7 separate regions of the Homo sapiens genome follow, and all the other regions are linked to region 7. Evidence: promoter capture Hi-C in 16 types of primary human blood cells and fetal thymus (Javierre and others, 2016). All regions are on one chromosome and are shown on one strand. Each heading gives the region's core, a stretch centred on a gene start or on the middle of the fragment in contact. The rest is flanking DNA. Distances are from core to core; before and after follow the strand shown.

Region 1 (3,483 bases), core at 699-3,198, 420 kb before region 7:
GTACATTTTTTAAAAATTAAATAACAGATCCCCTTCATATGAGAGCTTCAGCTTAAATGGGGGGTGCATGAATTTATATCTGTGGCTGAAGGCATAGTGGGAGAGAGTGGCAGGAATCACTCATGGGTGACACCTGGTGTCCTGTAGAAAGGAGGATGACAGCATCATCAGGTCCACATGTAACTGCTTGTGTCTGGGTTGATCTAAACACAAAGGAGGTGTTTAGTGCGGATCGCAGGATTCGGTTGCCCCATGTGATATATTTTTATCAGTAAAGGGAATGGAGACAGGTGGCACGTTTATCCATTTTCCAGATGACACAAAGATTACAAGGATGTTAACACATTCAATGACAGAACGAATACTCAGGAAGATTGCAGCCGACTAAACGAAGGAAGGATTTAATAGAGATATGTGATTTTCCAGTGTGGGCTTCAAAAACTCGATTGTGTCTAGACAGGATTGAGGTGACCTGCTTCTACAGAGGTATATGATAAAAAATCCCAGCGACTTTAGGTATTGCAAGCTCAGTAGGAGATGAGCCAGTGGTGAGACAAGCCTTACCCCAAATGGAAGTTGGGGTGTTTTAGTGGGAGCAGAGTATTGAGGACTAGAGAGGCAATTGCCTGGCACACTACCCTGGCAGCACTGTGTTCTGCTCGGGGTGCCCTGGTGTATGAATTATTAATAGTCTACAGCATAGTTAGAGGGTGTACTGCCAAGTCCAGCAAAGACCTATTGGAGGGATTAAAGAGATATCCTGGAAAAGATGAGATATAAAAAAAGACATGAAGTCTAGCTTCATGTATTTGAAAGGCTCTCAAATTTAAGGCACTCTCAAAGGTTCTCAGCCTTCTTATGCTCTCAGAAATTGTCAAAGACCCCAAAGACCTTTAGTTTGTACGAGTTATATCTATTAATTTTTATCATTTAGAAATTACAACTGTGCACTTTCTCATTTGAAACAGAATACTGACAATTTGTTTAACTATTAATTTACTTTATTTTTACTTATTTTATTTTATTATTTAATTTTAATTTTTTTGAGACAGAGTCTCGCTCTGTCGCCCAGGCTGGAGTGCAGTGGCGTGATCTCGGCTCACTGCAAGCTCCGCCTCCTGGGTTCATGCCATTCTCCTGCCTCAGCCTCCCAAGTAGCTGGGACTACAGGCGCCCGCCACCACGCCTGGCTAATTTTTTGTGTTTTTAGTAGAGACGGAGTTTCACCGTGTTAGCCGGGATGGTCTCGATCTCCTGACCTCGTGATCTGCCCTCCTTGGCCTCCCAAAGTGCTGGGATACAGGTGTGAGCCACCGCGCCAGGCCATTTTATTTTTTTTGAGATGGAGTCTCACTCTGTGACCTAGGTTGGAGTGCAGTGGCGCCATCTCAGCTTACTGCACCCTCGGCCTCCCAGGTTTAAGTGATTCTCCTGCCTCAGCCTCCCGAGTAACTGGGATTACAGGCACGCACCACCGGCTCATTGTTGTATTTTTAATAGAGACGGGGTCTCACTATGTGGGCCAAACTCGTCTCGAACTCTTGAGCTCAAATGATCCACCTGCCTTGGCCTCCCAAAGTGCTGGGATTACCGGCGTGAACCACCGCACCCGGCCTAACTATTAATTTACTTCAAAGTGACAATAGAATTATTATATTTTAATGTAAGCGTTAATTTTTACTGAAAAAAAACTGTTTTCTAAAACCAAGGCTTCAGTGAGAAGAGTGGCAAATGTCTCCAATGTCTATCATAATAGAAGATAGCTGGAGTCTGTTATCAGCTCCTGCAGTCAGTTGTGATATGTTGTTGTTGTTGAAATATGTGGAGAAAATCTGTCCTCACAACAACATGTAGTCAGAGAAGGGAAGATGTCACAGAATCTCTGAAAGCGGGGTCTTTGGACCACACTTTGAGAACCACTGGTTTAGACAAATTAGTAATGAGGAGCTGAAGTTCTGGATAGTTACGTCTAATAGTGCCACCCACCAAATGAAGGGGCTGGGAATTCCCTACCACTTGAAGTTATTCGATATAGGGTAAAGGCCTCTGTCTGGCACACCATAAGTGATTCATTTTCAGGTGAGAAGTTAGACCAGATGTACTTTATACAATTCTTTCCAATTCCATAATCTGACGATTTTATAGCTGAGGAACTGGGCAGCTTGCCTTGTATACATGACTGCATCTGAGATGAGAGTTGGTCGAAGGATATCTAAGAACTCCAAATGTTCTTACCTGCCTTTACTCAGGGTGTGCAAATGGCTTCCTTCCCCTGTAGGAGCCATAATGGAGCTTCATAGCTAGTCTAGGTCTGAGCACCTAGAGTGTGTTGGGGGAGTCCTTTAAGTCAGGAACACTCTGAGAGTTCATGGGAGACTCTGAGGCACTCAGAGCAAAGTTGCAGGGATGATGGTGAGGAGAGAAGCAGCAGAAATTGGGTAGGATTTGAAGGTAAAGGAACATCTAGGAACATCTGTGTGGGTCGAGACAGAGTGGCATTATTGGGAGCATAAAGGAGAATGGAGAAGAAACAGAGAATCCCAGAGCTATAGAACTGGAGGATGGTAAACTCAGAAAAAGGGAATGAGGCCAAATACATTCAGCAGAATACAGCATTGAAACAAACCCAAAATTGTCAGGCAGTAAAAAATTGAAGATGCAAATCAGGTTATGTGCCTCCTTGCCAACCATCCCCCATGCCATATCCGAACCATGTGCTGTATCTGGGTATTTGTGCTTTATCCTGGAGGACTGTCTGAGGATGGGCCTGGTAGGTGCAGAGAGGCAAAGAGGCTGCTTAGTGAGGGAACCTCTTGAGGAGACATAAAGTAATGACAGCCCTTGGATGTCTTCGTTGACAAAGATTTTCTCTTTGATGCACTGAGAACAGATCAATCAAAGAGACATTTTCTCGAGGTTAAAATATCTTAGCATGCTCCCAAACTCTGGTGACCTGAAGTTGAGCTGCAGAGGCCAAGAACAAGTGTGTGGGGAGGTCCTCATGTTTGCAAAGTGCCACAGAGCAAATTCCTAGGGAGCAGAGATGGTAAGCAGTGGGCAGCTTACCCAGGCTGACATCCGCTCCAACAGGTTTCTGGAAGGCAGCTCCTGAAGGATCTTGCCTTTGGATACCTGAGGGGATTACACAGGGTCAGCCGATTTACACACAACCAGCAGGCTGCTTTCTTTCCTTATTTTGCCCCCGGTGAAAATTACCTTAGTTCAGATTTTCCTTGGAAGTCGGCCGAGCTCTCTGTGCCTGGTTGTACTTCTGGGGGTTGCAGAGGAGGCAAAAATCTTGGCCAAGGGGACAGGAGGAAACAGTGCTCCATGGATTGGGCTCCTGTAGAGTCCCACGAGTCTGTAGAGGCCTAAGATGGCCTTGGAGTCCTTGCCCTGGCCAGTGTTCTCATTCTCAAGCCTTTTTGTCCAGGACAACAGCATGTGCATTGGCAAAGGTGCAATTGTGAAGCTCATAGAAGC
Region 2 (3,704 bases), core at 633-3,132, 500 kb after region 7:
ATGTAATTTTTCATCCTGACATCAACCTTATAGGTAGAGCATGCGTCAGCTCCTTGTAATCTCCACTGATGGCATTGTGGTATATAAATCCAGCCAATCCCCTTTAAAATCCACTTAAATTTGCTGACATTGCCTACCTCTTGGGGGTTAAGAGTTTCAGAAGATTGTTATCCTCTGTATAAAAAGTATTCCCCTTCCCTACTCCCTTTCGTCCTAAGTTTACCTTGCTCAGTTTTAAAAAGGATCTCTTTTAAAGGAAACACACCCTACTACTTCAGATTTTGAAAGTTAAGTCTATGCTTGTTTTAGTCACATCAATCATCACATTTTCATATTTTTAAGATTTTAATCTGCTTAGCATCCTGATTTTGTCTTTCTACTCCTTTTAGTCCCTTCTTGTCTTGCTGGCTGTCTTCCCTAGCACTAGTCCCACTCTGAATCCTTGTGATTGCCTTAGTTTTCCTTTTCTGGAATTTTACCAGTTCCATTTTGCATTCCTGAAGGTATAGCAACAAAGAAGTATAAATAGGATTCTAGAGGAAAAAGTAGAAGGGAAGGGTGATGTACTTTCTTCTATTTTTGCAAACAATCCATGCCTTATTGGACTTTGGTTTACAGAAACACGATGAGTCTCTGTTCTCAAAACCAACCTCTACTCACCGAATTGAAATCAGATTTTTAAAAAGTGAATTATATTCATTCTTTCAGCCTTTTTCTCTATCTCCCTCCCTCCTTTTCTCTTTCTTTCCTTTCATCTCTTTGTTTTCCTTTCTCTTTTTCTCGTCCCTCATTCTAACTTCAATAAGGCAGCCATTTGGGCTATGGCATTGTCTTAGTCTGTTTGGGCTCCTATAACAAAATATCATCAACTAGGCAGCTTAAACACAGAAAATTATTTCTCGTAAGTCCAGAGGTGAGGTCAGGGTGCCAGCATGGTCGGTTGAGTTCTGGGGAGAGGCCTCTTTCGAGTTGCAGGCTGTTGACTTCTCACTATGTTCTCATTTGGCAGAAGGGACAGTGGACTCACTTGGTCCTCTTTCATAAGGGCACTAATCTATTCAGGAGGGTTCTGCTCTCATGACCTAATTACCTCCAAAAGGCCCTGCCTCCTAATGTCGTCACCTTGGGGGTTAGGATGTCAACATATGAATTTTGGGGAGACACATTTAGACCATAGCAAGCATTCTAAAATAGAAAATTTCATCCTCTAATTACCCCTAAGACACTATGCAATAAGAAAGATTATTATGTACTGCTGTAAATTCATATCTTTTAAATTATTGGAAACATCATAAAGACAGGAATTTTCCTGGAAATTGAGGGAGAATACTGCAGAGACTATAGACTCAGGAGAAACTAAAAAAAGCTCTCAGATTCAAACTCGGAAATAAGGACATCTAAGCGTGAGCTATTTTATTACTCATTTGAGATGTATTCCTTTGTTGCCATCTCTTCCCTTTACTTCCTTTAGCCTTAGTCCCTTTTCAAGTTCAATCACTTTAAATTTATGTTTGTTTTTCCTCTTGATTTTATCTCACCTGACACCTGAAATCAACATGCATTTCATTTGTTCTTGATTGTGCTACTCCACTTGATGGTCAGTAGGGATACAAGAAATAGCACAAGAAGGCAGGGTACTAAAATGTATTGAGTATCTGCTATGTGTCAGGCACTTTAGTAGGCACTGTTCTTTTATTGTTTCCTGAAATCCTTACAACATCCCTGTGAAAGGATTGTTAAATTTTTCCTTTTACTCATGAGTTATCTGAGGCCCATGAAATCACTTTCCCTAGGACACGTGGCTTTACCCTTCTATTAAGTAGCTTTCAAACACTTCCATTAACCACAGCATTAAGAGATTTTTAGAACCAAGCATTTTCATTGTTTAGTTAACCTTTGTTTGACCATTGCAATATAGAGGGAATCTCTATTTTTCTCCCTTCATTCTTATTTTCAGCAGAGCAAAATTTACTACAGAATTTTGTAGATCAAGCGGAATAGTTCAAACTGTCTTTTCATAAAATGGATCTTCAGGGATATTGAGCACATGTTTATGCTCCTATCAGCTATTCTTCCTTTATACAGTGTTCATTGCCCTCATACAGTTGAGAACTAAGGATTGTGCCTTCCTATGTTAAGAAGGCAGTCAGAAGTGGCCTTTCTTTATCTGGGCTGCTCTCTGTTGCAGTTTTGCTGATGATTTTCAGTATTCTTAGAATAATGACAAGGATCAAATTGTAATTGCAGGAAACTTCAAAGATCTCATAGTGGGTGCCTTCCTTTACTTATGCTTGAACTTCTAAAAGAGACTAGAACTAATCAGAGATAAACAATACAAAGGATGAAATATAAAATTAATTAAAACAAAGTTTCTTGATAGGTCTCATTTAAAATATTCATTTGGAATTGGAACAGAAATGTATTTTAAAAGTCTATCTACTAATGAACATGCATGCTTCTAATGTTAATAAGTTATCAATTAGCTAATTTTATAATTGTGCATGGTCTACTGAACACTGAGTTTCCTCAGTAGGAAAACGCTATACTTTTCTTCTCAGGGGCCTTCAAGGGGAAATGAAGTAATTACTGTTGATGGTCCTTTACTCCCTAAGTGCCATAAGTTCCAAACCCACTCATTTGTAATTCTAGTCACAAATTCTGTTTCTCAAATTAGTTTAGGTGATAACTGGGGGCTGACAAAACACTTATTTAAAATCAAAACTAGACTATATATAAACATAGGTTTTTAAGTTATGAAAAAATGACTTTAACATTTCTTTATAAGAGAAAATAAATAATGGATGTGATAAGGTTTACATTTTTTTCATTAGTTCTTCCAAACCCAAATCCGTTTATATTCTTTAACTGGTAGTCCACTTGAGTGATTTGACTCAGTATAATACAGCCTGATGTCTCGTCAACTGTAGCATACAGAGACTTAAACTATAGCAGAAACAAAATGTTCCATCTTTTATATTTGTTGCTAAGATCCTTCAAAGATACATTCAAATGTTTAACACAGTAGGTATAAAAAGTCCAAATATGGGCATAAGAAATATAGTAACTCTCAGAAATTTAGGAGTCTGGTTCTGCCTGGTTTTCCCCTGGTTTCTATTGATTTGATTCTTTAGATCCTCATAATCAAATTACCTAATTCTCCCCTGTCTTTAGTATCTGCAGTAGCGTTTCTAAATCTTTTTATTTGCCCTGCACCTATTTGAAAATCTGGTGAAGGTTTTCTTAGAATAATGTTTTAACATGTATATAATAAAATACATAGGATTACGAAGAAAGCCAATTATATTGAAATGTAGAATCAAAGTATTAAACAATTTTATGATATAATAATTATGTGCTTCCTTATTTATGCATTAAATAACACTAGTTAATGGTGGGTCTAATACCTACCTACCATCATTAAGTTGTGATCTACCTAAATAATAGGTCAAGATTTCAAGAACAATCATAGTGAGATATGAAAATGTCTGATTTTGATTGATGACAAAGTTACAGTTATTCCTTTAAATTACTGATTATTTTCCTACATCCATAATTGAAGGAAATTGCTATTTTTTAGGTAGAGGTTGATAAAACTAAGGGTATCTTTTTTTTCCTGTCGGAGTTCCTGAACTACCTGAATTCTATCCATGGCCCCACTAGGAAGTTATGAAGATTTAACACTCCTGCCTTGGAATAACACAAAT
Region 3 (3,455 bases), core at 478-2,977, 440 kb after region 7:
TCTGAAAAACTTCTTTCCTTGTCTTTGGTTTATCTTTTTTATGGATGTAATAATTGTTATATTTTTCTAGATGCAGTTCTTCTTTCCCCAGCTGCAATACAAACTAGAGGGCCAGTTTTAGGTAGAAAATAAAATAAGCTTATTTTAGAATATTAGCATGAAAGAGTGGGAATTTGTATCTATTTTGTTTCCTGTATTATCCTTAGTGCCAGAAATTGAGAATTAGGATGTTGGCTATAAGAAAGAACTTTCTTATTTTGGCAGGAAAATTAGCTTTGCTGCAAAGGTTGTGTGTATGTGTCCATATTTATACTTGCAGTTCCTGAAGTTGTTTAAGTGATTTGTTTTCTGCCACCTGATCTATGGCCTATCCCCACCCACTACCCTAAGAAATGGAAGGTTGGGATGCCTGTAATCCATCAAAAAGTCTTCTATTCAAGGGAAGAATGGAAACAGCTATCAGAGAAAATGGGATTTGGCCTAACTCTCTTACCATTTATGGGTGTGTGTGAGATCTCACTCCTTGTCTTACTGACATGGCTGTGTTTGTATGAGTCTGGAGTGGCAAGGCCCGTGGCTTTCCTGTGGGCTGGCCACATTAGCTGGAAGGATGAAAATGAGTGCCGCAGTGAGTTTCTATATATCTGGGTGGGCACTGGGGCAGTTTCTGAAATCTTTTCATTTCTTGAATTTGTACAGCTCCTGGCAGTTTTAGCTCAGTAGTTTCCAGAGCTCTGTTGGAAAGCCCTGCTCACTTAGAAGCCAATAGGGTCCCTTCTTTACCTCCATCACTTTGATTGATTTGACAAATGGTTATTATTTTCCATAACCTGATCTTACCTTTACTACATCTTAAATAAATCCTTTAAAAATATTTGTATTAATGACAAGTATCTTTCCTGTTTTTCAGCACTAATAAAGTTTAAAAATACAATTTAAGCTTGTATTTTAGTCATTTCAGAGAAATTTGGGGAGGAGGAAGAATTGGTTGATTGGCTTTAAATGGCCATCCTTAGACATATACATTTCAGTGTATTTTTGCAGAATTAATTCTTTCAACCCTCAGACAACCTTGTATTATATTTATTTACATTTTTACATTCCTTTGATATGGCTACGTCAGGTTCACATGGCTGGTAAATGACCTTGGCTCACACTCTGTCCTCTGCTCAGATTTATGCAGAGGTGGCACAGGCCCACCCACCTGCTGCATTGGAACTCATCCTGGGAATGTCCCTTACCTGAAGCATCCACTGCATTACCTTTCCTTAGACTATCATTATAAAACCATTGGATATGAGAATCCAGTTCTTACAATTTAGTGAGAACATTAATTTTCTTTACTGCAACCAATTTAAGAAAGTTGATACAGACTACATTGGGGTATGTACCTTCTGATTTGCTGGTATCCAACATTCATCCATTTGATCCCCCTACAGCTCAAATGCATCCTAGTTTTGCAACTTGGAGTTTAAAAGGTGAGTGATTTGTATCCATCAGCTCAGCAGTGACAGCAGGGCTAAATCCATCACTTGGTATTATTTGGTGTTTCTGCACAGGCTGCCAAATGCCTTCCAAAGCCGCTGAAATTGATGGTGACCATTTTCCACATCCTTCATTTGTGGTTTACACTGTGACTCTCTTCAACTTCAATTTCTCAAGGGACTAAATTCTGTCTGTTTTGTGTTAGATTTTGCAGTTATAACCTATTTCATCATTTGAAGTTGCACCTTCAAAGAGACTTTTCTTGTATCTGAGAATTGGCCAAACCACTTACAGGGAGTAATACTTTCTTTTTAGATTCTGTTGCTGTCTATTGTTTTCTTTAAACTGACCAGGAGGGGTATATTGTAATTTGGTAGTGTCAAATGCTTTCAGTGTGTCTGCTTTGATTTGATCATCTCTCCATTTTGTTGGGTTTTATTTTACAGTGACTTACATTTCCAATAAGTTGCTACATGTATATAAAATCCTGGGCTAACTCTGCTCTTTTGGACTGGTTATGTTGAAAGCATGTCTGGCAGTAGGACATCAAGTAGCACCTGCCTGGTTAACAGGAGTAGGTTGGTCACAAAGAGTGGAAGCAGAGATGCCTGAGTACAAGACACTAAGGAGAATGTTAGCCTGTAATATTGATGCAGGCAGCTATTGTCTGTGGCACTAATGAGAGATGCACTGTTTATATTCAGCAAAAGCCTCACACAATTCATGAAGCAAAGAGAGAAGAAACTCCAAAAAGACAGAAGCTACTGAGACTGGTTAAGGCTTTCAAATAGAAGCACGTCCTTAGTGTGAGATGCCTTCAGTTCACTTATCCAGTACCATAGAGAATAAGACCTTTTGTTTTGTTTTTAACTTATACACATTAAATTGGCCCTAAAGTTGTATGGTTGAAGGTGGAAAACATTTTTAAACTTGCCATTATGTTTTATAAGATTTTTGGTTGCTTTTGAATTTGTTCTATAAGGTTAATTCATAACTAGATTTTTAAACTTTAAAATCTGTGAAGCTTTTTCTACTCTATTTACCTCATTGATGCCCCATTTCTCTGACTACATATAGGATTGACGTGAAGGTAATGCAATAGACAAAGCTATGCATGTCAAATTCCAACAGCATCAATTAGAATTTTTACTATCTATGTCATTGGAAGCACATATCTTTTATGAAAAGTCTTCTTTATCCAAAATTCTTAGAAATCTACTTCCTGGTCAAGGTGGTGCCAACATGAATAAAATCTGTGCCTAACTATGAGGGACAGTTCTTCTTCAAGGTGAAATGTGAATAAATGATCAAAGTATGAAAGGTAGTGCTTCATAACATTTTAGTTTGAATATATTTTATAGATAAAATTTATAGAGACATATATAGAGAGAAGACAGACTATAATGGGATGATTGTGTAGAAAGTGAACTTTACTCAATGAAATAAAAAAGCATCTTAGGTATGTTTCTCATTTGTGACAGTGGGGTTGGCTTCAGGCAAGAGACCCACAAGCCCCATGGACACTTATTCCATGAGAAGCTTTTATTCTGTCTCCATTCTCCTCCCTGTATCCAAGTCCAGCTCCTGAGGTAAGTTGTGCCAGGCACATAACACCCCATAAAAACAGTGATCAAGAAGAGGTTTTCAGCTCACAGATAGCCTTGTATCTGCAGCTATTGCTGCTTCACACTGACTCTGGTGATAATTTCTTATGAATTTCATCAGAGCTGCTTAGGAACCCTTGTTGGGAGGTTGATTCTGAAGCTACTTGCTTCGCTGGCTATATCTTTGTTATTCTCCACTTGAAAATATCTGGCACAAATAAACCATTTGACAGTAATAGAGGAGGAAGCCTTTCCCCCCCCTCCGCCACATCTACATTGCTATTGTTAACCCTAGATTCCTCCCTTGTAGTTTTTCATACAGTTTTTTATGTTTTAATTATTTTTTTGAGATGAGCTCTCACTCTG
Region 4 (3,197 bases), core at 374-2,873, 480 kb after region 7:
TTCTATATTTATTAGCTTTGTGACCAGGGTAAATCACTTAATCTTTCAATGCCTCTGTTTCTTAATCTATAAAATGGAAGCAATAATAGAACTATGTTAAAGGGTTGTTAAGTGGATTAAATGAGGTAATATCTGTAGAGTGTTTATAACACTTTCAGGCATAGTAAGCACGATGTAAGCATGTGTTATGTAGATAAATCAGAAGTTCTCTCATATGATTTTGAAGCAAATAAGGTTTGGAAACCAATGAAATTGAAACAAGAAGGCTCTGTAATGCTCGGCCTATTGTTCATTAAAGATCTGTTTTCCTACTTCCCATTATTCTCAACGGGAGAAGTATCATCTGACACTATGTTGTCAGCTAGTGTGCATGTCTGACGAGTTTTATTTTAAAATACATGTTATCTGATAATGAATTATTTTTGTTTTATTCTCTTTTATGTAGCATTATATTAATTTCATTAAAATTATGCTCATTGTTAGATTTTATCATTTATTAATTTCATTTTAGGATAATAATGGGAGTATCATAAAATATTTGTTATGTAAAAGGGCATGACATCTGATAGGCCTGAGATTCAAAACTCAGATGTAAAAGGAATTTCCATATCAGTCTCTCTCAGTACTATAGAACATAGCATTCTTTCACAGTACATATTAACACTTATATACTTAATTAATACATTCTTATTTCAAGCTATTTTGGCATGTTTTAGTCTATTTTAATGGGAATGTATAGTCTGTCTCATCAAGTAGATTGTACATTCTCCTAGAAAAGAAAATGTTGTCTTGATTCCTTTTGTATCTTTTTCACAGCAGGCATTCAATAAGTGGTGTTGACAGCTTGACTCAAGTTTAAAGAGAAGCAGGAAAATTCAGAGAGTAGAGTCAGAAGTTTAAAGTACATTGAAAATAGAGTGCCCGAAAAATCTTAGTTCACCGGAAGAAAACTAGCAAAGCTACAGGAAACAGAGAAACAGAGAATGCCTTCAGGGCTCTAATAGGAAATGTGATGTTGAGGCAAGTGGAAAATTAAGCCGTTAAAAGATATATGCAGGTGTGTCTTACCTTTGGAAAACCTAATATAAGCTTCTAAGATTTAAATATAACAAAAAGAAAAACTAGGTAAATTAGAAGTTTTTTTCCTGGGCAGGGGAGGGCAATATCAATCATATAAATATTATGATTGGGTATCTACTATGTGTCCACAACTTTGCATTAAAAAGTATTGAAGTTTTATTAGCTTTAAAAATATTCACTTAAATGAACTTGGATATACTTAAAGTGGGATTCAGTTCATAAAACATTTATTTTATTCAAGGTTTTTTGGTAGCACAATTATTTTTAAAATTAAATGAACCACTATGTTAAATAAAGCTAGGTAATGACTTAATTAGAAGACCTGAAGCTCAGAAAATATCGAATTTACCATAATAAATAGACACCACCCTATCTTTCATGAGTCCATCTAAAACAAGGGTTTAGGCAAACAAACATGCAAACAAAAAGAGAAAATAAACACACTGCAGATTATTTTTGTTGAAAGCAAATGAGGAGCTATGTGGCCTAAGTTTGGATGGAATGTTTATTCAGTTGGTTGACAATCAATGTAACTTCAAAGCAAGCTCACTGTATCAATCATGATAATAGCCTCCCATCAGTGCAGTAAGATGGGATACCATCGCCTTTGCTTGTTTTCTCTCTCATCCTCATTAAGTTAGAAACTCTATGGGTCTTCAAATGATCTATGTAGTTTACATACACATATATGTGTACACACATACACATATATAAACAGAATTTTAACTATACTTATATAGCAATTTTATTTTTAGAAATAAAACAGGAAAAAACATATACAAAATAAAATAACTTTTAGTTCGATATAGCTTCCTAGATAATAAGATTTACTCTTCCTACCAGCCCAAATCTCAACCAGCCCAAATCTCATGAAAGCATATAGAAAAGAAAATGGAATACATAGGAATTTTAGAAACCTGGGCATGAACACCAAAAAAGTAAAAGGGTGACACATTTTTAAAGAAACAGAACACGTGATATCAGGTTGAAAATGAAATGCAAGATTGCTGAAAAAATGCACATTGAGGAAAGAGAGGTGCTCAAAAAACTACTTGTTCTCAGAGGTAATAAGCTTTAGAGAAAGAGACCATGTGCGGTCTGCTTGGTAATTCATTTAAAGGCTGTGTAATAGTTTTGCCAATTGTATTAATCAGGTTCCTAAGTGTAAGCAATAAATGCCTGTTTCGAATGAATCATATAATTATTTGTATAGCTAACAGAATTGTAGAAGGCTGGAGGACCAGGCTGGGAACTGGGCTGCCAGGAGCAACAACCAAATATAAGCCACAGAGGTGACCTTATTACAAAATTTCTGGTACCTCATTCCTCATTCAGGTAGAATTACAATAATTTGCCACTGAGTCACTTGTAATCCAGGACAGTAATTTTACAGACATGGGCACAGGTCTTTGCTTTCAGATAATCAAATCTCTAAAACATCAAGGGAAAAAAAAAGAATAAAAATTTAATTAATCTAGGTGGGGAGATGCGGTAAAAGATGGCGGAATAGAAGGTTCCACAAGGACACCAATTTAACAACTATCTACACAGAAAAAAAACATCTTTATAAGAACCAAAAAATCAGTGAGCTCTCACGGTACCTGGTTTTATCCTCATATCCCTGAAAGGGACACTGAAGAGATAGAAAATACAGTCTGGAATCACTGAAGCCACTGCTCCCCCCACATCCTCTGCAACAGTGGCGTGTTATAGAGACCCTCTCTGGTACTGCAGGAGGGAGAACACAGCAATTGTGAGTCATTGAACTCAGTGCTGTCCTGTCAGAGCACAAAGGTGAACTAGACCAAACTCAGCTGACACCTGTCCACAGAGGGAGCATTTAAACCAGCCCTAGACAGAGGGGAATCGCCTATCCCAACCGTCTGAACTTGAGTGCCCCCAAACCCCACCACTGGGGGCCAAAGTGCTCTTGTTCTCTAAGTAAACTTGTAAGGCATTCTAGATCACAAGGATTGCAACTCGTAGGTGAGCCCTAGGGCTGAGCTAGGCCCAGAGACAGTTGACTGTAGGGGCACCTGACATACTGAGACACCAGCTGGGGCAGCCAAGAAAGTGCTGGTATCTCCCTCCCCTAATCCCACAATGCACAGTTGAGG
Region 5 (3,429 bases), core at 588-3,087, 460 kb after region 7:
GAGTGATCACAGTACCTGGTTTTAACATCATATTAAGGCAAGAGGCACTGAAGATGGTAGGAAAGACAGTCTTGAATCCCCTACAATATCCCTCCTCCATCTCCCAGCAGCATCTTTGTGGCACAGGAAGATAATCTGTGTGCTTGGGGGAGGCACAGTGGCGCGACTGTGGGACTTTGTGTTGGAACTCAGTGGTTTCCTGTCACAGCAGAAAGCAACATGGGGCAAAACTCATCCAGTGCCCACGGAGGGAGCATCTAGACCTTCCCTAGCCAGAGGTGAATAATCCATCCCAGCAGCGGGAACCTGAGTTCCAGCAAGCCTCACCATCATGGGCTAAAAGGCTATGGGGTCCTACATAAACTTGAAAGGCAGTCTAGGCCACAAGGACTGCAAGTCCTGGGCAACTCCTGGTGCTGTGGGTTTGGAGCCAGTGGGCTTAGGCTGCAAGCAACCTAGTGAGACACCAGCTGGGGTGGTCAAGGGAGTGCTTGTGTACCTTCCCCCAAGCCCAGGTAGTACAGCTCACAGCTCCAGGAGAGATTCCTTCCCTCTGACTGAGGAAAGGAGAGGGGAGAGTAAAGAGGACTTTGTCTTGCAACCTGGATACCAACTCAGCCACAGTAGGATAGGGCACCCAGCAGAGCCCAGAGGCCCCCATTGCGGGCCCTAGCTACAGGACTACATTCCTAAATGTAGTCCTATCCCCCTGGGATAGGGATAGAAGGGGATCCTCTGCCTTGAAGGGAAGGGACCCAGTCCTGGTAGGATTTATTAGGCTCCTGCTGTGTAAAGAGCCTTTGGACCCTAAATAACCAGCAGTGGTAGCCAGGCAGTACTCAATGCAGGCCTTGGGTGAGACTCAGAGGTGTGCTGGCCTCAGGTGTGATCCAACACATTCCCAGCTGTGGTGCTATGGGGAGAGTGTCCATTTGGTTGAGGAAATGAGAGGAAAGAGTAAAGAAGACTTTGTCTTGCAGCTTGGGTACCAGCTTGGTCACAGTGGGGTAGAGCATCAAGCCACTTCCTGGGGTCCCCAATTCCAGACCTTGGCTATTGGATGACATTTCTGGACCTGCTTTGGGACAGGGGGGAGCCCACCCTTCCCTGAAGAAAGAGACTCAGGCCTGGAAGCATTCACCACAAACTGACTGATGAGCCCTTTGGCCTTGAGTGAACATTGACTGTAACCAGTCAGTACTTGCTGTGGGCCAGAGGCAGTGGTGGCCACAGGGAGAGATTTTTCTGCTCGAGGAAAGGGGAGGGAATAGTCAGAAGGACTTTGTCTTGTAGCTTGGGTGCCAGCTCAGCCACAGTAGAGTAGAGCACCAGGTAGATTCCTAAGGTTCCTGATTTCAGGCCTTCGCTTCCAGATGGCATCCTCAGACTTGCCTGAGGCTGGGGAAACTCACTGCCATGAAGGCAAGAACACAAGCCTGGATGTATTTGCCACCTGATCACTGTCAAGCCCTTGGGCCACAAGTGAACACTGGCAGTAGCCAGACTGTGGTTACTGTGGGCCTTGGGCAAGACACACACACACACACACACACACACACACACACACACACACACTCACACTCACTATCTGTTTGGGGGAAAGTATGGGAAGACAAGAGTCTTTGCTTGGTAATCCAGGGAATAGTTCCAGATCTTACCCAGGACCACCAAGCCAGTATATCTGTGAGTCTGCAAGAGCCACAGCATTACTGAGCTTGGAGTGCCCCCTAAAGCAGATATAGCTATAGTGACCAAAGATTTAGATCACAATGCCCAAGTCCCTTCAAATACCTGGAAAGCCTTCCCAGGAAGGCTGGGTAAAAGCAAGCCCAGACTGTGAAGACTACAATACATACATAACTCTTCAGTGCCCAGACACTGACAAACATTTACAAGCATCAAGACCATCCAGGAAACCATGACCTAACCAAATGTACTCAGTAAGTCACCAGTGACCAATCTTGGAGAGACAGAAATGTGACCATTGAGATGGAGAATTCAAAATTGCTGTTTTGGGAAAGTTTAACAAAATTTAATACACCAAAGAGAAGAAACTCAGAATCCTACCAGATAAATTTAACACCAAGTTTCAAATTATTAAAAGGAATCAAGTAGAAATTCTGGAGCTGAAAAATTGACAGGCTCAAGAATGCATCAGAATCTCTTCATAGCAGAATTGATCAAGCATAAGAAAGAATTAGTGAACTTTAAGACAGACTATTTGAAAGCACACAGTCATAGGAGACAAAAGAAAAAATAAAAGGAATCAAGCATGCCTATAAGATCTAGAAAATGGCCTGAAAAGGGCAACTTTAAGAAGTATTGACCTTAAAGAGAAGGTAGAGAGAGAAATTGGATTATAGAGTTTATTCAAAGGGATAATCACAGAAAACTTGGCAAACCTAGAGAAAGATGCCAATATTCAAGTACAAGAAGATTGCATAACACCAAGCAGATTTAATTCAAATAGGACTACCTCAAGCCATTTAATAATCAAACTCCCAAAGGTCAAGAATAATGAAAGGATCCTAAATGCAGCGAGAAAAGAAACAAATAACATACAATAGAGCTCCAATATGTCTGGCAGCTGACTACTCAATGGAAACCATATAGGGAGGAGAAAGTGACATGACATATTTAAAGTGTAGAAGGAGAAAAACTATTGTCTTAGAATAGTACATCAGCAAAGGTATTCTTCAAACATGAAGGATAAATAAAGACTTTCCCAGAAAAACAAAAGCTAAGAAATTTCATCAACACTGGGTGGGTCTGTCCTACAAGATATGCTAAAGGGAATTCTTCACGCTGAAAGAAATGGACATTAATGAGCAAAAAAAAAAAAAAAAAAAAAAATCATCTGAAGGTACACAACTCACTGGTAATAGTAAGTGCACAGGAAAACAAAATTGTGTAACACTGTAATTGTGGTGAATAAACTACTCAAATCATTAGCAGAAATTCTAAAAATAATACTCTAACAAATTTTCAGTATAATAAAAGTAGAAACAACAAGGGGTTAAAAATCAGGGGAATGCAGTTAAACTATGCAGTTTTTATTAGTTTTCTCTTTACTTGTTTGTTTTTTTGTTACCCAATTAGTGATAAATTGCCATCAGTTTAAAATAAGGGATTATCAGATATTATTTGCAAGCCTCATGGTTACCTCAAATAAAAAAACATACCACAGATCCACAAAATATATAAAACATGAAATTAAAACATGCCATTTGAGAATATCACTTTCACTAAAAGGAAGAGAGAAAGGAAAGAAAGAAGTAAGAGAAGACCACATGACAACCAGAAAACAAATAACAAAATGGCAAGAGTAATTCCTTACTTATCAGTAATAATATGGAATGTAAATGGAATAAACTCTCCAATTAAAAAAATAGAGTAGCTGAATGAATAAAAAAAAAGACCTAAACATCT
Region 6 (3,358 bases), core at 734-3,233, 440 kb before region 7:
CTCCCAGAGTGCTAGGATTACAGGCGTGAGCCACCGTGCCCGGCCATTTTTTTTTTTTTTTTTGAGACGGAGTCTCGCTGTGTCTCCAGGCTGTAGTACACTGGCTCGATCTTGGCTCACTGCAGTCTCCACCTCCCGGGTTCAAGTGATTCTCCTGCCTCAGTCTCCCAAGTAGCTGGGACTACCGGTGCGTGTCACCACACCCAGCTAATTTTTGTATTTTTAGTAGAGATGGGGTTTTGCCATGTTGGCCAGGCTGGTCTCCAACTCCTCACCTCAGGTGATCTGCCTGCCTTGGCCTTCCAAAGTGCCGGAATTACAGGCATGAGCCACCAAGCCTAGCCATAGAGGCTACTAAGTTTTCAAGAAGGAGAAGACTTTTTTTTTTTTTCAGAGACAGGGTTTCGTTCTGTTGCTCAACCTGGAGTGCAGTGGCCCCATCTTGGCTCACTGCAGCCTCAACTTCCTGGGCTCAAGCATCCTCCCACCTCAGCCTCCCAAGTAGGTGAGACCACAGGTGCATGCCACCACACCCAGCAAATTTTTTCATTTTTTGTAAAGACAAGGTCTTGCTATGTTGCCCCTGGCTGGTCTTAAAAGCGTGGACTCAAGCAGCTTATTGTCCTGTTTTGGCCTCCCAAAGTGCCAAGATTACAGATGTGAGCCACCATGCCTGGCCAAGAAAACTTTTTAAAGTAGCCTTTCTACAAACACCAGAAATGGATCCAGGAAGAAGCGGTTGTGGGCAGTTTCAGGTGGGAACCTCAAGGATGCTGACCATGGGTTGATTCTTAGTGAGTCCATGCGGACCGGGACAAGTGGTGCAGTCACGAGGAAACCAGTCACCAGGACCTGGGAGAGAGGAGAAAGTGTCTGCCTCCCCGCTTCCTTTCCTCCATCCCTGTTTTCCAAACTGCTCTCTATCTCAAAATGATCTATGCTATCCCCAGAGGGTGGCTTATTTACAAGGCAAGGGATGAAAAACAGAAAGAGTGGACACCTTCAGGGAAGACAGGAAATTTAAAACAAGCTTAACCAAAGTGGGGCACTGGAGAAAAACCCAAATAGATGAAATTTCACCAGAAGAAAACCAGGTTCTATGGTTGGGACTAAACAGAAACAAACAACAACACAGCAATCAGCAGAATGGGGGAAATGGGGGTGTTGAGCTGGGCGTGACCTTCCTATCAACCTACAGTGTGAAGTGTCTTGATCTGAGGCTAAAGTCACAAATTCAGGGAGGAGGAGTCACACAGTGGAGGAGCACTGTGGCTTTCACTCTGTATTCTTCCCCTCGGGTTCTAGGGCTTATGGGTTCATTTTTTAAAAATTTTATCTATTTATTTTTTTCGAGATGGAGTCTTGCTCTGTTGCCCAGGCTGGAGTGCAGTGGCTCGATTTTGGTTCACTGCAACCTCTGCCTCCAGGGTTTAGGCAATTCTCCTGCCTCAGCCTCTGGAGTAGCTGGGATTACAGGCACCTTTCACCATGCCTGGCTTATTTGTTTTTGTATTTTTAATAGAGACGGGGTTTCACTATGTTGGCCAGGCTGGTCTCGAACTCCTGACCTCGTGATCCATCTGCCTTGGCCTCCCAAAGTGCTGGGATTACAGGCATGAGCCACTGTACGTGGCTGGGTTTATATTTTTACAAAGCAATTTCAGTAAATGCTATGTACACTTTTACTTATACAGCCCATCAGCCCCCATCCCTCAGGTCCTGGCCATTCCTCTACATACATTCATTCGCTTTTATTCCCTACCCTGTATGTCTACTGTAACACCGGGAGTCCTGGCCCCCATGCTTCTGGCTGCCCCTAAGAATCCCTGTGTTGGTCTCTGTAGTGTTAGTTGTGTGGCCATCTGCTAGAGGAACCTTCAGTCCTCAGTTCTGCCCGCAAAATTCCCCTGCTTGGAAATCATCAGAAATTCCCATTGCTAAACTTGATGTTTTGGCTTTCAAAGCATCCATAATTTAATTTCCAACTATCATGTTAAGGCTGTTCTCTTTCTTATTCTCTCTTTCACTCTCTTTTTTAGGATATTCCATGTTCTAGTCAAAATGAACTGTTCACCCTTTCCCACTTTTCTAGCTTTGTGCATTTGCTCACTTCTTCCCTCATCTGGAAAGCCCCAATCGTGCCCACCCTCCAAGCTCAGCGACCCATCTCCCTTACTCCCAGCCCCAGCTGACAATCTCTCTGCCTGACTCAGCTTTCTCTAACCAACACCGTGCATAATATGTGGCGCCTACAGGCACTCAATTAACAGCATTAACATTTCTTTGTTCTATTTCTGTGCATCTCTAAACCTCTAAACTTTGGTGTTCCATAGGGTGCTAGCCCCATCATGCATCTCTTCTTGGCTATGCACATCCCTGGGAGATTTCATCAACTCCCAGGACTCACAGACCATTCATGTGCCAAAAGCTGTCTGTGCACTGGTTGGTCCCCTTTCTTGAACCTCACATATACATAAAATGGCTTCCATACAGCTTCCTCTGGAAGGCACCTCAGGTTAGATATTTCCAAACCTGAAGTTGTTTATCTTCCAAGCCTGATCCACCCAACCACCCATCTCCCCATCTGCCTTCCTCTCTGACTCACTCAGTCATCCAGCAGTGTGTGTTCCTGACACTCTCCTCATCAAATACCACGTCCTGTCAGACCTACCTCTAAATATCTCTCACATTTCTCCCATCCTTTCCGTCCCCAAGTTTGGGCTTTCATCTCTTTCCTGAATATTGCCAGAGTTTCCTACCTGGTCCTAACCAGGGCAGCTTCTGCAGTGGATGTTTTATCCAGTTGGCTCTAAGTGTTTCACAGAAACAGATTAACTAAGAAGTTATAATGCCTCTTCCAAGACGTCTAATTGTGTACAGTATTTGTCATTTTGTGATCTTCACTTTAAGAGAGCCCCCAAACTGTATAAGCTTCAGAGTCCTTAAAGTCTGGATCTTCCTCTAGTGACCAAGGGTTATCAACATTTTCAGAGCCAAAAAAAAAAAAAAATTGGTTGAAACAAAAAAACATATTGGCTACAAAATGAAAAATTGCAAAATTGACACTGACAATAATAAATATGTAATTGTCCATCAAACATAATGTTATTTGTACATTTTTTACATTAGTTATAATGTAAAACATTAATAGTAAAATTTTTAATTTATAAAAACTGAATTACATTTGAAAATGATTTGTGGGCTAGATTTTCTCACTTTGCACAATTTCCTGAGGGTGTCTGGTGACTGTCAAGAAATAGTAGCCAATCATAAATTAAACGTTGCTCATCGACAAATAATTTAAAAAGCAAAAATATAAAGGTTCCTTTCAAAAGTTTTTACAGGCCAGGCATGGTGG
Region 7 (3,720 bases), core at 1-2,500:
GTGCGGGGAGGGCGGTAGGGCCGGGCTCCCCGAGGGGCTCGCGCGCGGCAGAATCTGCAGTGCCCCCCGCCCGCGGCGCCCCCACCTCGGGGAGCAAGGCCGGGCCACCCAGTCCCAGCAGGAACGGCCACACGTGTGCGCGTCTGCGCGGGGACAGGGGCGATCCTCCACTCGCTCGCCCCCACCCACCATACCCAACCTCGCCCGCGACTGCCTAAGCGTCGGGGGGAACAAGGAGAGGGAACGCAGGGCCGCGGGGGCACTCTCCTGGGGGCGGCGGCCGCCCCTCTTCCCGCAGAGCCCTCTTTCCTCCAGAAAGTCTCGCCCAAACTTTGTTCGGCACAACCAGCGCCGAGGGGGCGGCGCAGGCCAGGTGGGAGGGGGCCCGCAGCGGGCGGCCGTACCTTCGCAAACGCCCGCTTCGTACTCGGTGAGGGAGTCGCCATTGAGCGGGGGGCGGATGACACAACGCAGCCCCCGGTCGCAGGTTCCGTAAATCCCGAAGGTGCCGCCGCAGCTCTCGTTCCTCTGGCTGGCGCACGTGTAGCAGCAGCCGCAGACGCCCTGCACGATGCTCCCCGGGCAGTTCCTGGGCTCCTCGCACTTGGACTCGTCACAGGGCAGGCAGACCAGCGCCCGGGTGCCGGAGCGCGCCAGCAGCAGCAGCAGCCCCAGCAGCGAGACCAGGAGGTGCCCGCAGCCGGCCAACCCCCTGTCCCCCGCCACCAAGTACATCCTCCTGCGCCGCCGCCGCCTCCTCCTCGCAGCCGGGCCGGGAGCGGGGCGGGCGCCCTCCCCTGCGCGGGGCACACGCGCCGCCGCCGCCGCACCAGCAGCCCGCGGTCCTCACCGCCCCTCTCGGGGCCCCCGGGGCGCGCCTCCCCTCGCGGGGCGAGGCCCCCGCCCCTTCTGCGGGCCGCGCCGACCCCGAGCCCACGAGCCTTGGCGCCGGCGGCAGCTTCCCCTCCTCCTCCTCCTCCTCCTCCCGGGAGGGAGGGGGAAAAAAGAAAAAAGTTTCCTCCCGGCAGCTCCGGTTCAACCCAAACTTCTGGCGCGGCGGCGGCGGTGGCTGCTGCGCTCGGCTCCAGCCCGGGCCGGCGGCGCCTCCTCCCTCTCCTCCTCCGAGTCGGCCGGCCCCGCAGCGGCGCAGCCTCCGGGCCGGTCCCCGCCTCCCGAGCTGCCGAGTGGGCGCGGTGGCGCAGCACAAGATCCGCGGCGTCCGCTCCGCGCGCCCCGCTCGCCTCACTCCTGCGCCGCTCCTCCGGGCGCTTGTTTATGGCTGGAGCCTCAGCCGCTCGGGCTGCGCCCTCCCCCATCCTACCTCCTCCCCCAGACCTTCCCCCCACCCCCACGCGCCGCGCGCCGCTCATTGGCTGCCCCCCCTCCCCGGCCCGGCCGGCCCCCTCCGCCTCCCCCTCCCCCTCTCGGGCGGCCGGGCCCTTCCTCCCTCCCTCACACGCCTCCACCTCTTCCCGATCTCCTCCTCCCCGAGCCCGGCGCACCGAGCCGGCCGTGCCACCGAGCTGCGGCTCTGGCCCCGGCGCCGCGGGTGCGCTGCGGATGGGCTTGGGGCGCACCCAGCGAGCAGCGAGAGTCGCGGTGTCCCGGGCGCTCGCTGGCACCGTGGCCGCAGCGGCCGGCCTGGGAGCCAGGAGGGCGAGGCGGCTGCACCTTCGGGGCCAGATTGGAGTTCGAAGAGTGGCGGGTACCCCAGAAGCTCGGGGCCGGGGCGATGGCTGCAGCCTCGGGAGGGTATCGCCGGATCGAACTCCGGGAAAGGGAAGCAAAGGCATGGAACCTCCGCACACTGGATGAGAATCCATCTTCCATTCGAGCTGGGAATAGACTTTGTGAAAGATATTATGTAATGGAGTCTCGGGAACCCTGAGACCTCTCCAGCGAAGCTGAAGTGAATTAATTAAGTGCTTTAAACGGTCTTGGTAAATATTCCGCGGGAGCTGGGGAGGACCGTTGGGATGGCTGTAGCTTGAGTTGAATTTTAACTGTCCTCATTCTGGGTTTTGTCGCTCTGCTTTCTGTGCCAAGGTGCTGTGTTACGGGAGAGAGTGACTGGAAAGTAACAAAGCTGAATCTTTCTCCCTGGAGTAAGGCCGAAGACTGGATTACTACACGCCTAGACGTGACACTACACCCATAGATCTCATGCATCATTAATGCCATATGACATTGCCATTTTCTTTCTCAGTTCACGGACAAAAGTGGTGGGTTTTCATTGTCTTCACTGATTGTCAATGCATTAATAAAGAAGATGTGTGGTACATAGTCTTTGTGATAAATCAGGTAAAGAAGCAACGGAAGTGATGCAAAATGCACGGTGTGGAGATGGTTTCTCTTCAGTGGTTGTCAGAAAAGGTTTTCGTAATGATGGCTCTGTCATTGATGGGATATGAAGTAGTAATCCGCTCCGTAGTGACCTACCATTCACAAGATGGGTACCAGGTGAATAACATTAATTAATTGACAAAAAGTGACTGTGGTCAATGGGGGAAAAAATCGATCCCGTGGCAGGTGTGACGTGGGAATGGCTGGCCCACCCTCTGATCCAAGATGGTCTGGCTGCAGGAAGGTGGCAGCCAAGTGGATTCTGAAAATCGTGACTAATGAACCGAAAGTTAATAGCTGGCAGTGCAAGGAAAGAGGAAACAAAGCTACCTTTGAAATGTTATGTTTGTGGAACAAATTCATACTTACGATAAATATTTTAGTTTAACCACTCTGTCTAATCCTGAACCCAAAAGCCAGAGTTACCAGTGGACTATTCCCCCATGATGGGCATCAGCAAACTAAACATTTCTCCTATCATATTTCTTTGTCCAAGGAGAGGAAGAGGCTCATTAATTATCATTGATTATTATAGGGCCATGAGGAAGATGTTCAACCGTGGAAAAGGGGAGAGAGCATTGCATTTTCTAGACGGGTTTAAAGAGTTGTTGCAATGAAATGATTCCTGTAGTTGGGTGGGAAGTCCGATTAGATGATCTCCAAAGGCCCTCATACCCTGTGGGTCCATAATAAGTGTTAAGTGGCAAAATCGTTTAAAATATGCTAGGTTTTCTATTAGAAAAACCGAAGAGACTGGGCGTGGTGGCTCATGCCTATAATCCCAGCACTTTGGGAGGCCAAGGTGGGCAGATCACTTGAGGTAAGGAATTCGAGACCAGCCTGGCCAACATGGTGAAACATGGTGAAACCCTGTCTCTATCAAAAATACAAAAATTAGCCGGGTGTGGTAGCGCATGCCTGTAATCCCAGCTACTCAGGAGGCTGAGGCAGGAGAATCACTTGAACCCAGGAGGTGAAGGTTGCAGTGAGCCGAGATTGCGTCATTGCACTCCAGCCTGGGCGACAGAGCAAGACTCTGTCTCAAAAACAAACAAACAAAAAAACTGAAGAAAAATAAAACACACATTGTTAAACATTGTTCTTTCTTGTCACCGAACAAGGCACCAGCACTTCAGTGTGGGATTTGCCAACAAACTGTCATCATTGCTCTGTGTTAAAAGGTCCCTCCCACTCTTGCAGAGGAGGTTATCTGTATTTCTGTTCAAATGCAAGTATAAAGACATTAAAATGTAGCAGATAACATTGTAGGACCTGCAGGAAAAGCCAAGGTCAGGTGATGAGAAAAAGGCAGAAGTGAGAAAGCTACTGTGGTTAGGAAAGAAGGAGGTAATAAGCATTGTCAAAGTTTAGCTTCTA

Evidence for each region. The method cuts DNA at HindIII sites, captures the fragments that hold promoters and counts their contacts. A CHiCAGO score of 5 or more calls a contact.
Region 1: a fragment that was not itself captured here is called in contact with the fragment with the promoter of CRIM1 in region 7 in 9 of 17 cell types (M0 macrophages, M1 macrophages, M2 macrophages and 6 more); the score reaches 17.3 in M0 macrophages.
Region 2: a fragment that was not itself captured here is called in contact with the fragment with the promoter of CRIM1 in region 7 in 4 of 17 cell types (total CD4 T cells, total CD8 T cells, naive CD8 T cells and 1 more); the score reaches 5.7 in total CD4 T cells.
Region 3: a contact is called between a fragment that was not itself captured here and the fragment with the promoter of CRIM1 in region 7, in 4 of 17 cell types (activated CD4 T cells, naive CD4 T cells, total CD4 T cells and 1 more). The highest score is 6.9, in activated CD4 T cells.
Region 4: a fragment that was not itself captured here is called in contact with the fragment with the promoter of CRIM1 in region 7 in 9 of 17 cell types (total CD8 T cells, activated CD4 T cells, non-activated CD4 T cells and 6 more); the score reaches 9.6 in total CD8 T cells.
Region 5: a fragment that was not itself captured here is called in contact with the fragment with the promoter of CRIM1 in region 7 in 6 of 17 cell types (naive CD4 T cells, total CD8 T cells, naive CD8 T cells and 3 more); the score reaches 6.6 in naive CD4 T cells.
Region 6: a fragment that was not itself captured here is called in contact with the fragment with the promoter of CRIM1 in region 7 in 1 of 17 cell types (monocytes); the score reaches 6.2 in monocytes.

The regions. Positions count from the first base shown.
Region 1 is chr2:36,774,651-36,778,133 of GRCh38, reverse strand. VIT (vitrin) reads right to left here. Exons shown (of 16, transcript NM_053276.4): 9 at 3,067-3,132. All of the region lies in intron 1 of LOC124905990 (a long non-coding RNA gene), which reads left to right. Among named protein-coding and RNA genes, the nearest start is that of VIT, 80 kb to the right of the region's middle. The HindIII fragment of the contact is 4,595 bases long and covers 1-3,483 here.
Region 2 is chr2:35,858,414-35,862,117 of GRCh38, reverse strand. No RefSeq gene overlaps it. Among named protein-coding and RNA genes, the nearest start is that of MIR548AD, 390 kb to the right of the region's middle. The HindIII fragment of the contact is 5,131 bases long and covers 1-3,704 here.
Region 3 is chr2:35,910,686-35,914,140 of GRCh38, reverse strand. No RefSeq gene overlaps it. Among named protein-coding and RNA genes, the nearest start is that of MIR548AD, 440 kb to the right of the region's middle. The HindIII fragment of the contact is 1,569 bases long and covers 943-2,511 here.
Region 4 is chr2:35,875,464-35,878,660 of GRCh38, reverse strand. No RefSeq gene overlaps it. Among named protein-coding and RNA genes, the nearest start is that of MIR548AD, 410 kb to the right of the region's middle. The HindIII fragment of the contact is 1,063 bases long and covers 1,092-2,154 here.
Region 5 is chr2:35,893,081-35,896,509 of GRCh38, reverse strand. No RefSeq gene overlaps it. Among named protein-coding and RNA genes, the nearest start is that of MIR548AD, 420 kb to the right of the region's middle. The HindIII fragment of the contact is 7,448 bases long and covers 1-3,429 here.
Region 6 is chr2:36,796,752-36,800,109 of GRCh38, reverse strand. The region is part of intron 12 of VIT (vitrin); the gene reads right to left. The region is part of intron 1 of LOC124905990 (a long non-coding RNA gene); the gene reads left to right. Among named protein-coding and RNA genes, the nearest start is that of VIT, 100 kb to the right of the region's middle. The HindIII fragment of the contact is 1,901 bases long and covers 1,033-2,933 here.
Region 7 is chr2:36,353,308-36,357,027 of GRCh38, reverse strand. It overlaps CRIM1 (cysteine rich transmembrane BMP regulator 1), which reads right to left and starts at 1,250. Exons shown (of 17, transcript NM_016441.3): 1 at 405-1,250. The coding sequence starts at 735. It overlaps CRIM1-DT (CRIM1 divergent transcript), which reads left to right and starts at 1,458. Exons shown (of 2, transcript NR_037631.1): 1 at 1,458-1,940; 2 at 2,047-2,279. The HindIII fragment of the contact is 11,087 bases long and covers 1-3,720 here.